Linked DNA regions of Homo sapiens: region 2 is linked to region 1. Evidence: promoter capture Hi-C in 16 types of primary human blood cells and fetal thymus (Javierre and others, 2016). All regions are on one chromosome and are shown on one strand. The core of a region is centred on a gene start or on the middle of the fragment in contact, and the rest is flanking DNA. Distances in the headings are between cores, read along the strand shown.

The links. Contacts are between HindIII fragments. The CHiCAGO score rates a contact against its expected background, and 5 or more counts as called.
Region 2: a contact is called between a fragment that was not itself captured here and the fragment with the promoter of CA5A in region 1, in 3 of 17 cell types (naive CD8 T cells, activated CD4 T cells and naive CD4 T cells). The highest score is 7.0, in naive CD8 T cells.

Annotation. Positions count from the first base shown.
Region 1 is chr16:87,934,115-87,940,360 of GRCh38, reverse strand. It overlaps CA5A (carbonic anhydrase 5A), which reads left to right and starts at 3,832. Exons shown (of 7, transcript NM_001739.2): 1 at 3,832-4,052. The coding sequence starts at 3,911. The HindIII fragment of the contact is 28,449 bases long and covers 1-6,246 here.
Region 2 is chr16:87,758,751-87,764,996 of GRCh38, reverse strand. KLHDC4 (kelch domain containing 4) reads left to right here. Exons shown (of 12, transcript NM_017566.4): 2 at 2,957-3,048. Among named protein-coding and RNA genes, the nearest start is that of KLHDC4, 4.1 kb to the left of the region's middle. RefSeq lists an enhancer at 2,556-2,625. The HindIII fragment of the contact is 1,947 bases long and covers 1,271-3,217 here.

The DNA of each region.
Region 1 (6,246 bases), core at 2,583-5,082:
TGGATGTGGGTGGCACCATCCAATCTGCTGGGACCCAGAGAGAACAAAAACAGAGAAAAGGTGAATGTGTCTGTCCATCTGCCGGACTGGGGCGTGCGCTTCCTCTCCTTCCCTTGGACAACGCCCAGCTCCCCGGCCATGGGACTCCAGGACTTACACCAATGCCACCCTCTGCCCCAGGGTTCTCAGGCCTTTGGCCTTGGACTGAGAGTTACACCCTCAGCTTCCCTGGTTCTGAGGCCTTCGGACTTGGACTGAGCCATGCTACCAGCACCCCAGGGTCTCCAGCTTGCAGTGGCCTGTCCTGGAACTTCTCAGCCTCCATAGTCATATGGGCCAATTCCCCTAATTAATGTCCTCTCATTCATCTATCTATCTATCTATCTATCTATCTATCGATCTACCTATCATTTATCTCTTTATTTCTATCTATCACCTACCTGAGGCGGGAGAATAGGGAATGAGGGTAACCCAGGTTTAAGGCAGAAGCAAAAGAGCAGCAGGAGCAGCCGGTTCCAGGCAAGATTGGGCGGCACACGGGCCACAGTCTCACTACTGCGGTAACAGAACAGAAGCCTCCACTTCTGCCTCTGATTGGTCAGGGGCCAATCCTTCATAGGATGTAACCAATTGGAGCCCTCTAAAGGGCACCTGGGGGTGTTACCAAATTCTTTTAGCTTAATAAAAACCCTGAAGAACATGGTAATCAGGGTTCTTGAGCCACTTGCTTGTTCTTTTCTTGCTTTGTTTGTGTGTTTTGCTCAATTCTTTAACACACCAAGAACCTGGACAACTCGAAGTTAAGACTTTCCATCTGGTAACATGTCTACCTGTCATCTATCATCTAGCTCTCATCTACCTACCATCTATCTACCTACCAATCATCTTTCTTCATCTATCCATTATCTACCATCTATCTACCTATCTATCTACCTATCTATTGTCTGTCATCTGTCTACCTATCTAGCTATCATCTCTCTCTAATCTATCATCTATCTATCTATCTATCATCTCTTTCTCTCTCTCTTTCTCTAATCTATCTATCTGTTTGTCTATCCCATTGGTTCTGTCTCTCTGGAGAACCCTGATTAATACACTGGGGCTGGTGATATTTTGTAAGTAAAGCAGAGTCCTGCCATGGGGCAGCAGGGAGATGAGGAAGACAGGGAGACCCCCAGCCCACGGGTACTGCTGCAACGCAGTCAACCTAAACTGGGCAGGCTGAAGAGGGCAGGACGGCTGAGGATGGCAGAGGACATGCCCCAGGAGCCTGTGGGGCATCATCGGCTGCCCAGGTGAGTGTACTCAGGAGATGCCCCTGCTCACATGGGGCTGGCAATGCCTGGGGTGGGAGCTTGGCCTGCAGCAATGAAAGTGCCGCTCTAAGGACATCACTTGTGTCAACAACAGCTCGACAGAGTGTTATCGTGTATGATGGAATCCTAGAATCTTCCCTACTTTACAGATGAGGAAATGGAGGCAAAAGCCAATGAATTAATGAGTGAATGAATGAATGAGTGAATGAGTGAATGAATGAGTGAATGAGTGAATGAGTGAGTGAATGAATAAGTGAGTGAATGAGTGAGTGAATGAATGAATGAATGAGTGAATGAATGATTGACTGAGTGAGAGAATGAATGAGTGAGTGAATGAATGAGTGAGTGAGTGAATGAGTGAGTGAGTCAATGAGTGAGTGAGTGAGTCAATGAATGAGTGAGTGGGTCAATGAATGAATGACAATGAATCAGACTTCCCAAGAGTGGGTGCATTTCCACCATGACTGTGTGGGAAGGAGAGAACATATCATCCAGACTTGGTTTTTGTTGCTCAAAACAAATGCAAGCAAACTCTTGGGCCCACCAGAGCAGTGGCCGAAAGCCGCAGACCCTATCCATTGTGTGGGGGATTTCAGTGGGATTCTTGGGCTTTCAGGAGCCTACAAGTGGACTCGCATTTCAACACCTGTGTTCTGTAGGGTTTTCTAGATCTAAGATTCCAGGATTCTATGAAAAGTTATGATAGCCCTGCCCCCTAAAAGATTGTAAGTTTAAACAACAACAAGAAGTCACAAACTGGTGCATCCCAATCCCATGGGTTCCATTTCACAGGTAAAAGGTGTCTGGGTGAATAAACTGCTGTGCCGCTCAAAGGACCCAAAGGAAGGTTCTTTGTGGGTTGGCGTCTGCAAATATCACCAGCTGCCTGGCTAGAGTGACCAGCTAACATACCCATGTGGACCCTGGGCATGAAGGGAGGTACCAGGCCAGGGGCAGTGGCTCATGCCTGTAATCCGAGCACTTTGGGAGGCCACTCTGGGAGGATTGCTTGAGCCCAGGAGTTCAAGACCAGCCTGGGCAACATGGCGAGAACCTGCCTCTACAAATAATTTTTAAAATTAGCTGGACATAATGGCATGCACCTATAGTCCCAGCTACTTGGGAGGCTGAGGAGGGAGGATCACTTGAGCCTGGGTGATTGAGACTGCAGTGAGCCATGATGGCACCACCGCACTCCACCTTGGGTGACAGAGCAAGACCTCACCTCAAAAAAAAAAAAAAAAAGAAAGAAAGAAAGAAAGAAAGAAAGAAAGAAAAGAAAAGAGGCTGGACGCAGTGGCTCATGCCTGTAATCCTAGCACTTTAGGAGGCCGAGGTGGGTGGATTGCCTGAGCTCAGGAGTTCGAGACCAGCTTGGGGAACACAGTGAAACCCCGTCTCTACTAAAAATACAAAAAATTGGCCGTTGTGGTGGTGTGTGCCTATAATCCCAGCTACTCAGGAGGCTGAGACAGGAGAATTGCTTAAACCTGGGAGGCAAAGGTTGCAGTGAGGCAGGATCACGCCATTGCACTCCAGCCTGGGCAACAGAGCGAGACTCCATCTCAAAAAAAGAAAGAAAGAAAAGAAAAGAAACGAAGAAAAGAGGCTGGGCGTAGTGGCTCACACTTGTAATCCCAGCACTTTGGGAGGCCGAGGCAGGCAGATCACCTGAGGTCAGGAGTTCAACACCAGCCTGGCCAACGTGGTGAAACCCCATCTCTACTAAAAATACAAAAAATTAGCTGGGCATGGTGGTGGGCGCCTGTAATCCCAGCTACTCAGGAGGCTGAGGCAGGAGAATTGCTTGAACCTGGGAGGCAGAGGTAGCAGTGAGCCGAGATCACGCCATTGCACTCTAGCCTGGGCAACAGAAGTGAAACTCTGTCTAAAAAAAAAAAGAAAAGGAAAGAAAGAAAGGTGGCCCTGTTAATGTTTATGCCAAGACAGCAGGCATGACCTGGAAGTGTCCGAAGCCACAGGGCATCTTGCTTCCGGGGAGGATGAATGAATCAAATCGCACCTATTTTAAGGCAAGCAAGGACTCCATGACTTCAGGAGCCCTGGTGGGTGGACAGAAGCTCCCTGCTCCCCTGGCCTGTCTACCCAGCAGCGCTTTGGCCAGTCCCATTCCTGTACTTCTGAGCCTGCCTGCCAGTCCCTCCTCACATGCACACCATGGCTTTGTGCCTGGTATTGAGTGTCCCGGAGCCCCAAACCACACGGTCAACCCCATGAAAGAAACAGGGACTCTGCTCTCATCCACTCGCCCCCGCCTCCCGCGTAATCCCCTGGTGCTCACGCAGCCCCACCGTACAGTTTTTCTAGCTCCCTGGCAGACTTGTGCTCCTGTTTGCCAGATCAAAGCCCAGTGACCTGAGTGGCCTGTCCCCAGCAGAGGCCACTAATCCCTGTGGACCCACCCTGTTGGGAAAGGCATGGGTTGAACTTTAACCATTAGGCTCAGGGGTTGGGATGAGTTTCTACAAAAAGAGGTGGGTACACGCCAGTCCACAGTGGTCCTGATCAAAGTGAGAACAGACAGCAGGGAACATCACCCTCTTCAGACTGGAGTCAGTGGGAACAGACCCAAGATGTTGGGGAGGAACACTTGGAAGACCTCAGCTTTCTCCTTCTTGGTTGAGCAGATGTGGGCCCCTCTCTGGAGTCGTTCGATGAGGCCAGGGCGATGGTGTTCTCAGCGTTCCTGTGCATGGCAAACCAGCAATAACACTTGTAAGTAGAGCCTCAAATTTCCTAAGATGCGACTGGATCCTTGTCTTAGCTGATGGGGTCTTTCGAGAGGAGAGAGGAGAGACCGTCCCGAGCCAGATGGGTTCAGATTTCCACTCCGTTTTTTTTTTTTTTTTTTTAAGATGGCGTCTCGCTCTGTGGCCCAGGCTGGAGTACAGTGGCGTGATCTCAGCTCACCACAACCTCCACTTCCCGGGTTCAAGCGATTCTCCTGCCTCAGCTTCCTGAGTAGCTGGGACTATAGGTGCATGCCACCACTCCTGGCTAATTTTTCGTATTTTTAGTAGAGACAGGGTTTCACTGTGTTAGCCAGGTTGGTCTCGAACTCCTAACCTCGCGATCCGCCTGTCTCAGCCTCCCAAAGTGCTGGGATTGCAGGCATCAGCCACGGCGCCCGGCCCTCTTTTTTCTTTTTTTGATGAAGTTTTGCTCTTTTGCCCAGGCTAGAGTGCAATGGCATGATCTCGGCTCACTGCAACCTCTGCCCTCCAGGTTCAAGTGATTCTCCTGCCTCAGCCTCCAAAGTAACTGGGACTACAGGCACCCGCCACTGCACCCAGCTAATTTTTTGTATTTTGGTAGAGATGGGGTTTCACCATGTTGGCCAGGCTGGTCTCGAACTCCTGACCTCAGGTGATCCACCCACCTTGGCCTCCCAAAGTGCTAGGATTACAGGCGTGAGCCACCGCGCCTGGCCACACTCCGTTTCTCTTGTATTTGGTGACCTTGGGTGAATCATTTAGCCTCCGTTTCAGGGGTCCTGGGGAGGGCAAGATGCTGGGAGCAGGCGGGTAGTCCGTGTTCGCACGGGACACACTGGCACGACTCACCATCCAGACCCGGCGGAATGGGCTGCACTAACCAGTCACGATCGCTCCTAAACTCTTCGGCAGAGAACGCTTTCAAGCAAACCTGTAACAAATAAACCACTCAGCCAGCTCTGCCAAGAAACTGCCCCGTGCCAGCCCCTCCTGGCTTCATGGTCAGTGCCTTGTGACCTTGAACGAGGCCCTTCCTCTTTCTGGGTCTCAGGTGCTTCCTCCGTAGAATGAGAGCCTGCTTTGGCAGCTGCCAAGTTCTCTTCTAACTGAAATCTTCCATGCATTCCATGTTTGGGCCATTGAAAGAGCATGGGCTTAGGAGCCAGACCCCAGGCATGCAGTCCGACTGACGCTTGCTGAGGTGGAGCCTCGGCAGGTCTTCACCCCCAAGCCTCTGTGTCCTTATCTCGAGATGGGGGTGGCCAGACTTTCTCTCCAGGGCCATGGAAGGATGACACGATGCGTGTAGAAAGCCTGGCCCACCCCAGACTCTGAGTGAGCTACACTCATTCCTCCTGTTGGGGTCCACACCTGTGGACTGGAGTGCAGTGGTGCGATCTCGGCTCACTGCAGCCTCTGCCTCCTGGGTTCAAGCGATCCTCTTGACTCAGCCTCCCAAGTAGCTGGGACTACAGGCGTGTGCCACCACGCCCAACTAATTTCTGTATTTTTAGTAGAGATAGGATTTCGCCATGTTGGCCAGGCTGGTCTCAAACTCCCGACCTCAGGTGGTCTACCTGCCTCGGCCTCCTAAAGTGCTGGGATTACAGGCGTGAGCCACTGCACCCACCCCCCTTTTTTATTCTTAGTACGACCGTCAAGAGCGCTAGCCTGCCTAGATTGGAATCTTGGCCCCACTGCTCTATGGCTGTTGCCCCTCTGTGACTTTCCTTTATTTTTTGAGACTAATTTCTGTCTTGTTGCCCAGGCTGGAGCGCAGTGGTGCGATCTCCAGCTCACCGCAACCCCCACCTCCCAGGTTCAAGCAATTCTCCTGCCTCAGCCTCCCGAGTAGCTGGAATTACAGGCATGCGCCACCACATCCGGCTAATTTTGTATTTTTAGTAGATACAGGGATTCTCCATGTTGCTCAGGGTGGTCTTGAACTCCCAGCCTCAGGTGATCTGCCCGCCTCAGCCTCCCAAAGTGCTGGGATTGCAGGCGTGAGCCACCACGCCCAGCTGTCCCCTCTGTGACTTTCTTAACTTCCCCCAGCCTTGGTTTTGTCGTCTGTAACAGGGGGTTGATAATGGTGCTTACGGCACAGTGTCGTTGGGAGAAGGGTCCGAGGTGGGGCCTGCAAAGGCTGGGGACAGCACATGGCTCCAGGAAGCCCTTGCTAGACGCCAGCTGCT
Region 2 (6,246 bases), core at 995-3,494, 170 kb after region 1:
ACTGGGATGTGACCAGATGTCCTGAATCAGGAGCTCTTGACCACAGTCCTTTGTCCCTTTTCTTCCTAAGTCATTGATCTCTCCATGTCCTCATCTCTTAAATAATGGAGTTGGACTTTTCCCTCACACTCCTCTTAGGCTCTTTCTTTTTTTTTTTTTTTTTTTTGACAGAGTCTTGCTCTGTCACCTAGGCTGGGCTGCAGTGGCATGACCTGCTGGCTAGGGTTGTGGCACAGGAAGTCAGTTCATCTGTGTGGTATCTTCAGAATGGTGCTTGGCAGAAAGTAAGCACTCAGTAACCAGCTGTTAGCTGCTTTCTGCTTTTTTTTTTTTTTTTTTTTTTTTTTTTTGAAGGAGTTTCACTCTTGTTGCCCAGGGTGGAGTGCAATGGTGCGATCTCAGCTCACTGCACCTCCGCCTCCCAGGTTCAAGTGGTTCTCCTGCCTCAGCCTCCCAAGTAGCTGAGATTACAGGCATGCACCACCACACCCAGCTAATTTTGTATTTTTAATAGAGACCGGGTTTCACCGTTTTGGTCAGGCTGGTCTGGGACTCCTGACCTCAGGTGATGCGCTCGCCTCGGCCTCCCAAAGTGCTGGGATTACAAGCCGTAAGCCACCTTGCCCCGCCAGTTACCTGTCATTTTTACTCATCTCCATGTCTCCCTCCAGTACCCAATACTAAGGTGATTGTAACAGTAGCTTCCCTTAAGAGAGAGAGCCTGTCAGGCCTGGGGTTTGTATGTTATCTGAATGAACCCTCAAAACAAACTTTTAAAATAAGTGGGCGTCTGATTAGGCTAGACCCACAGAGGATCATCTCTTTCTTAAATTCAGCTGTGTCTGTAATACAACCTAATCACAAGAGTGGTATCCCATTCTTTCACAGTCCTGGCAATTATTGGGGGAAGGATTGGGGACAGTTTGGAATTCTGCTCCCACAGAACTCATGTATCAGGTCACCTGGTTCGCACCTTCACTTAGTCCTGGCCTCTGCCTGTCTTTCCAGCTGTCTCCCTGGGCTCACTCCAGCCACAGTGTCTTTTAGTGTCTCAAACATGGCAAGTTGTGTCTGTGGTCTTACCTATACCCCAACCATACTCCGTCTGAGTCGTCTTTTCAGCATTCAGCTTATTGTCACTTTGGAGAGGCTGTCACTGGCTAGGCCACTGGCGTCACCCAGACCCTACCACCTTGCTCTCCTTCAGTCACCCAATGATGATGAGGTTCAGCCAAGGTCAAAGACCGCTCTAAGTAGCAGCAGCAAAGCTTTCGCGGTACATAGACGTTAGTATTTGAACTGTTTGTTTAACCTCGTTGAGCAAAAAAAGCAAGTTGAAAGAATATACAGTATGATACCATTTAATGACATTTTATTTTTTATTTTTTTTGAGATGGAGTCCTGCTCTGTCACCCAGAGCAAGTGTCGCAGTGGCATGATCTCAGCTCATTGCAACCTCTGCCTCCCAGGCTCAAGCAATTCTCCTGCCTCAGCCTCCCGAGTAGTTTGGGACTACAGGTGTGCGCCACTGTGGCCGGCTAATTTTTGTATTTTTTAGTAGAGACGGGGTTTCACCGTGTTGGTCAGGCTGGTCTCGAACTCCTGACCTCAAATTATCCACCTGCCTCGGCCTCCCAAAGTTCGGGGATTACAGGCGTGAGCCACTGTGCCCAGTCCATTTAATGACATTTAAAAATGTAAAACAATACTATATGTTGCTTAGGGATACACATGTGTAATAAAAGATTGAAGAAAAGCGTGAGACTAATAAGCATCGAGTTCCAGATAGTGGTTACTTGAGGGAATGTGTGGGTGGGTACATGTGGGTGACACTTTATTCCTTACCCTGGGAACCGTATACAGGAATGTCTTGGATAAAGTTCTGTTAACTTGTGTGTTTTAAATATTGCATCGTTTAGAATACTAAGCAGTGTACCCTGCTGACATTCACCCTGAGATGAGAGGTAGACTGAAGGAAGCACGAGGTGGGGCGTGGCAGGCTGAGGGAACCTGGCGTTTTCATTGAAGGAACGGAGAGGACGCTGGTGTATCTTGGAGAGTGAGGCCAGGTGGGAGGTGAGGTTGGAGAGGTGGGTGTGGGGGAGGGAAGATGGTCTGCAGGTGTGTGTAGTTGCAAGCAGGACACTGAAGGCTAGAAGGAACTTGAAATGCCAGGCTCGGGTGTGCATGGGAGTGTCTCGTAAATGTTGGGAAATGGGCACTGGGACTGAGGCGGGAACACTGGGTTCCAGTGCTGCCCTCTGTGCTGGCACATCAGTACCTTGAGTCACTCTCGATGGTAGTAAAAGTTGAGACCTTCTTACTTGGATAGACTGCAGCTGGTATTTGCTGAGCTCTTGCTGTGCAGGCAGTGTTTTAACTAGACACAAGTCTTGCTCTGGTGGAGCTCATATTTTATTATTTTGTTGGGGTGGAGGAAACAAATAAGCAAGAGAAATATATCAGACACTGCTCAGCAGACAGGAAGGCAGGCAGGCGTGACGGCCCAGGCCTGGGCTCTGAGAGGTGCTGAGGGTGTCTGCAGTGAAGTCACGATGGGCTTGTCTAAGTGGAAGTTCTTGTCAGACACTGCTCTGCAGACAGGAAGGCTGGCAGGTGCGACGGCTCGAGTCTGGGTTATGAGAGGTGCTGAGAGTGTCTGCAGTGAAGTCACAACGGGCTTGTCTAAGTGGAAGGTCTTGCAGAGGGAGCGTTAAGGGTGTGGAGATAATACTTGGTGCACACATCTACCCTTTAAGCAGACTGCCTTTGAGGTCAAGCTCTGGTTACTTTCGAATGTGTCAAACTCTGCATTTCAAACAGGCACAGTATGTTGCAATTCACAGATGTGACTGAGCCCAGTCGAATCACACTGATTGGAGGAAAGCTGAGCGGGCTGTGGCTCCGCGGCGGGTCCTGGGAATAAGTCTCACGTGTGCCTGCTTGCTTGCCCTAGGAAGACCTGGAAGCGCTCATAGCCCATTTCCAGACACTCGATGCCAAGAGGACTCAGACTGTGGAACTTCCGTGCCCCCCACCCTCACCAAGGTGAGCAAGTAGCATTTTTCATATTGTATGTTTCCTTTTCTTCTATACATTGAAAAACTGCTTTAAATAGCACCAGGTTTCGTAAATGACCAGGCACTTGGGACATTTTCATTATTAAAACCTGTTCTTGGTCACTTTCTGCTGAAGAACTGGAATGAGGCTGTAAGCTTTACTGTCATGGAACCTGGGAGCAGGGCCTACAGCACAGCTGCTGCCTCTGGGCTCCGGTGCCAACTTTGAAAGCTCCTCCACTGGTCGTGACGTGGGGATGAAAGTTTTGCCCCAGTGAGCTTTTCTTTGGTTCTTAAGGTATTTTAAAAGTGCGTACTGTAGGCAGAAAGCTGAAAATCACTGTGGCCTTTTGATGTGTTTGTAATGCTTTCAAATTCTCATGTGAAAAGTTTGTTAAACATAAATTGAGTATAAGCCATTTTAAATGGATTTGAAAATTACGTAAAAACGTTCCGAGTCTGTAGGATTTCATACACGTGTGGGATGAGCTGGAATGAGAAATGGTTTATTTCCCTCAGTAGGAGATTAACCTTGCAGGATTTACCCTTTTAATAAAGCTGCTGCAGGCCCTAGTGGAAGCCGGGGTTCAGCCCATCGGGAGTGGAGGGTCACGATTGTGCTGCGTTTGCATTAATGAGGCGCATGTGATGGCTCTGGTGCCCGAGTCCCACCCACCGGCCTCAGAGGCAGGGTTATCATCACCTGCCCAGAGGTGGGAGGAGCACGGTGATCAGCCCCTGAGCAGAGTGAGTGGTGTTGGAGCCACTCCCAAAGGCCAGTGTCCTTCCTGGTTTTCACTTCATGTCCATTAGGATTTTAGTTTTCTTTTTCCCTTTAGTTTGCATGTTGCCCTCAGGGCCAAATGTAAGTTACATGTGGTAAATGTACTTTTTTTTTTCTTTTTGAGATGGAGTCTCACTCTGTCATCCAGGCTGGAGTACAGTGGCATGATCTTGGCTCACTACAACCTCTGCCTCCCAGGTTCAAGTGATTCTCCTGCCTCAGCCTTCCAAGTAGCTGGGATTACAGGCGCCAGCCACCATACCCAGCTAATTTTTGTATTTTTAGTAGAGATGGGGTTTTGCCATGTTGGCCTGGCTGGTCGTGAACTCCTGACCTTAGGTAATCCACCTGCCTTGGCCTCCCAAAGTGCTGGGATTACAGGCGTGAGTCGCTGTGCCTGGCTGTAAATGTACATTTTCATTTGAGTTATTGGAGCAAATAAATCCTTGATCTTAGGCTTCTGATATATAGCACTCCTGAGGAAAGCCACTTTGAATGGGGATTAGTTTTATTTTTTTTGTAGAGACTTTTTTTTTTTTTTTTTTTTGGGACGGAGTCTCACTCTGTCACCCAGGCTGGAGTACAGTGGCGCCATCTTGGTTCACTGCAAGCTCTGCCTCCCGGGTTCACGCCATTCTCCTGCCTCAGCCTGCCAAGTAGCTGGGACTACAGGCACCCGCCACCAAGCCTGGCTAATTTTTTGTGTTTTTAGTAGAGACGGGGTTTCACCATGTTGGCCAGGATGGTCTTGATCTTCTGACCTCGTGATCCGCCCGCCTCAGCCTCCCAGAGTGCTAGGATTACAGGCGTGAGCCACCGTGCCCGGCCCTGTAGAGACTTTTTTTTATGTTGTCCAGGCTGGTCTCGAGTTCCTGGGCTCAAGTCACCGTACCTGGCCTTTTTCTTTTTTTTTTTTTTTAATGATATTTTAGAATTTTTCCATAAGTAATGTTGCCTGAAAGTCAGATTTCATGTCAGGATATAATTTAAGGTGTTGGCAGTTCCCTGGGTCAGCTGGAAATGCTTCCTAATAGGAGGGAGCAGTTATCCTGAGATTAAGATCTTTTGCTTGGTAACCTTAATATCTTCCAACTTCCTATTTCTTAATCATATTACTTTAAAACCTTGTGAGAATGACCAGTTTCTAAATGAGCATATCGTCAGGATTGGCTCTGATGTGACCTACCTGGAAAATGGGGGCATGACACCAGCTGCCTCAGTACCTCACCTGCCTGTGCGGCGGCAACACCTGGGCTGGTGCCGCTGGTGGCTGGGTGGGGACCTCAGTTTGGGCCCCGTGTAGATCGTTTCTGAAGTTGTGTTTGGTGCTTTTCTGCAGAAAATCAATAGGTATTCAGTGAGAAAAGATTCAGGGTCAGAGGAATTTGGGAAACACTCTTTATTTTTTTTTCTGAGACGGAGTGTAGCTCTTGTTGCCCAGGCTGGAGTGCAATGGCACGATCTCGGCTCACTGTAGCCTCCTAGGTTCAAGTGATTCTCCTGCCTCAGCCTCCGGAGTAGCTGGGACAATAGGCATGCACCACCACGCCCGGCTAATTTTGTATTTTTAGTAGAGACGGAGTTTCTCCGTGTTGGTCAGGCTGGTCTTGAACTCCCGACCTTAGGTGATCCACCCACCTCGGCCTCCCAAAGTGCTGGGATTACAGGCGTGAGCCACTGTACCCGGCCTATTTATTATTTTTAAAAAGTTTTTTTTTTTCTTTTTTTCTTTTCTGAGACGGAGTTTTGCTTTTGTTGCCCAGGCTGGAGTGCTATGGCGCGATCTCAGCTCACTGCAACCTCTGGAGTCAGGCTGGCCTCAAATTCCTGACCTCAGATGATCCAACTGCCTTGGCCTCCCAAAATGCTGTGATTACAGGTGTGAGCCACTGCACCCGACCTAAAAAGTTTTTTTTATTGTGGTAAAATGTTTAACAAAATTTGCCATTTTATTTTATTTTTGTTTGGTTTTGGTTTTTTTGAGACAGAGTTTTGCTCTTGTTGCCCAGGCTGGAGTGCAATGGTATGATATCGGCTCACCGCAACCTCCACCTCCCAGGTTCAAGCAATTCTTCCTCAGCCTCCCAAGTAGCTGGGATTACAGGCATGCGCCACCATGCCTGGCTAATTTTGTATTTTTAGTAGAGATGGGGTTTCCTCATGCTGGCCAGACTGGTCTCGAACTCCCCACCTCAGGTGATCCGCCCGCCTCGGCCTCCGAAAGTGCTGGGATTACAGGCATGAGCCAATGCGCCTGGCCAAAATTTGCCATTTTAATCATTAAAACTGTGCAGTTCAGTGGAATTACTTCATGTCGCTGTGCAACCATTAGCACTAACCAGTTGCAACATTGTTTTATCACCCCAAATAGAAACTCTAGACCAACCTTGTCTAACTGGTGGC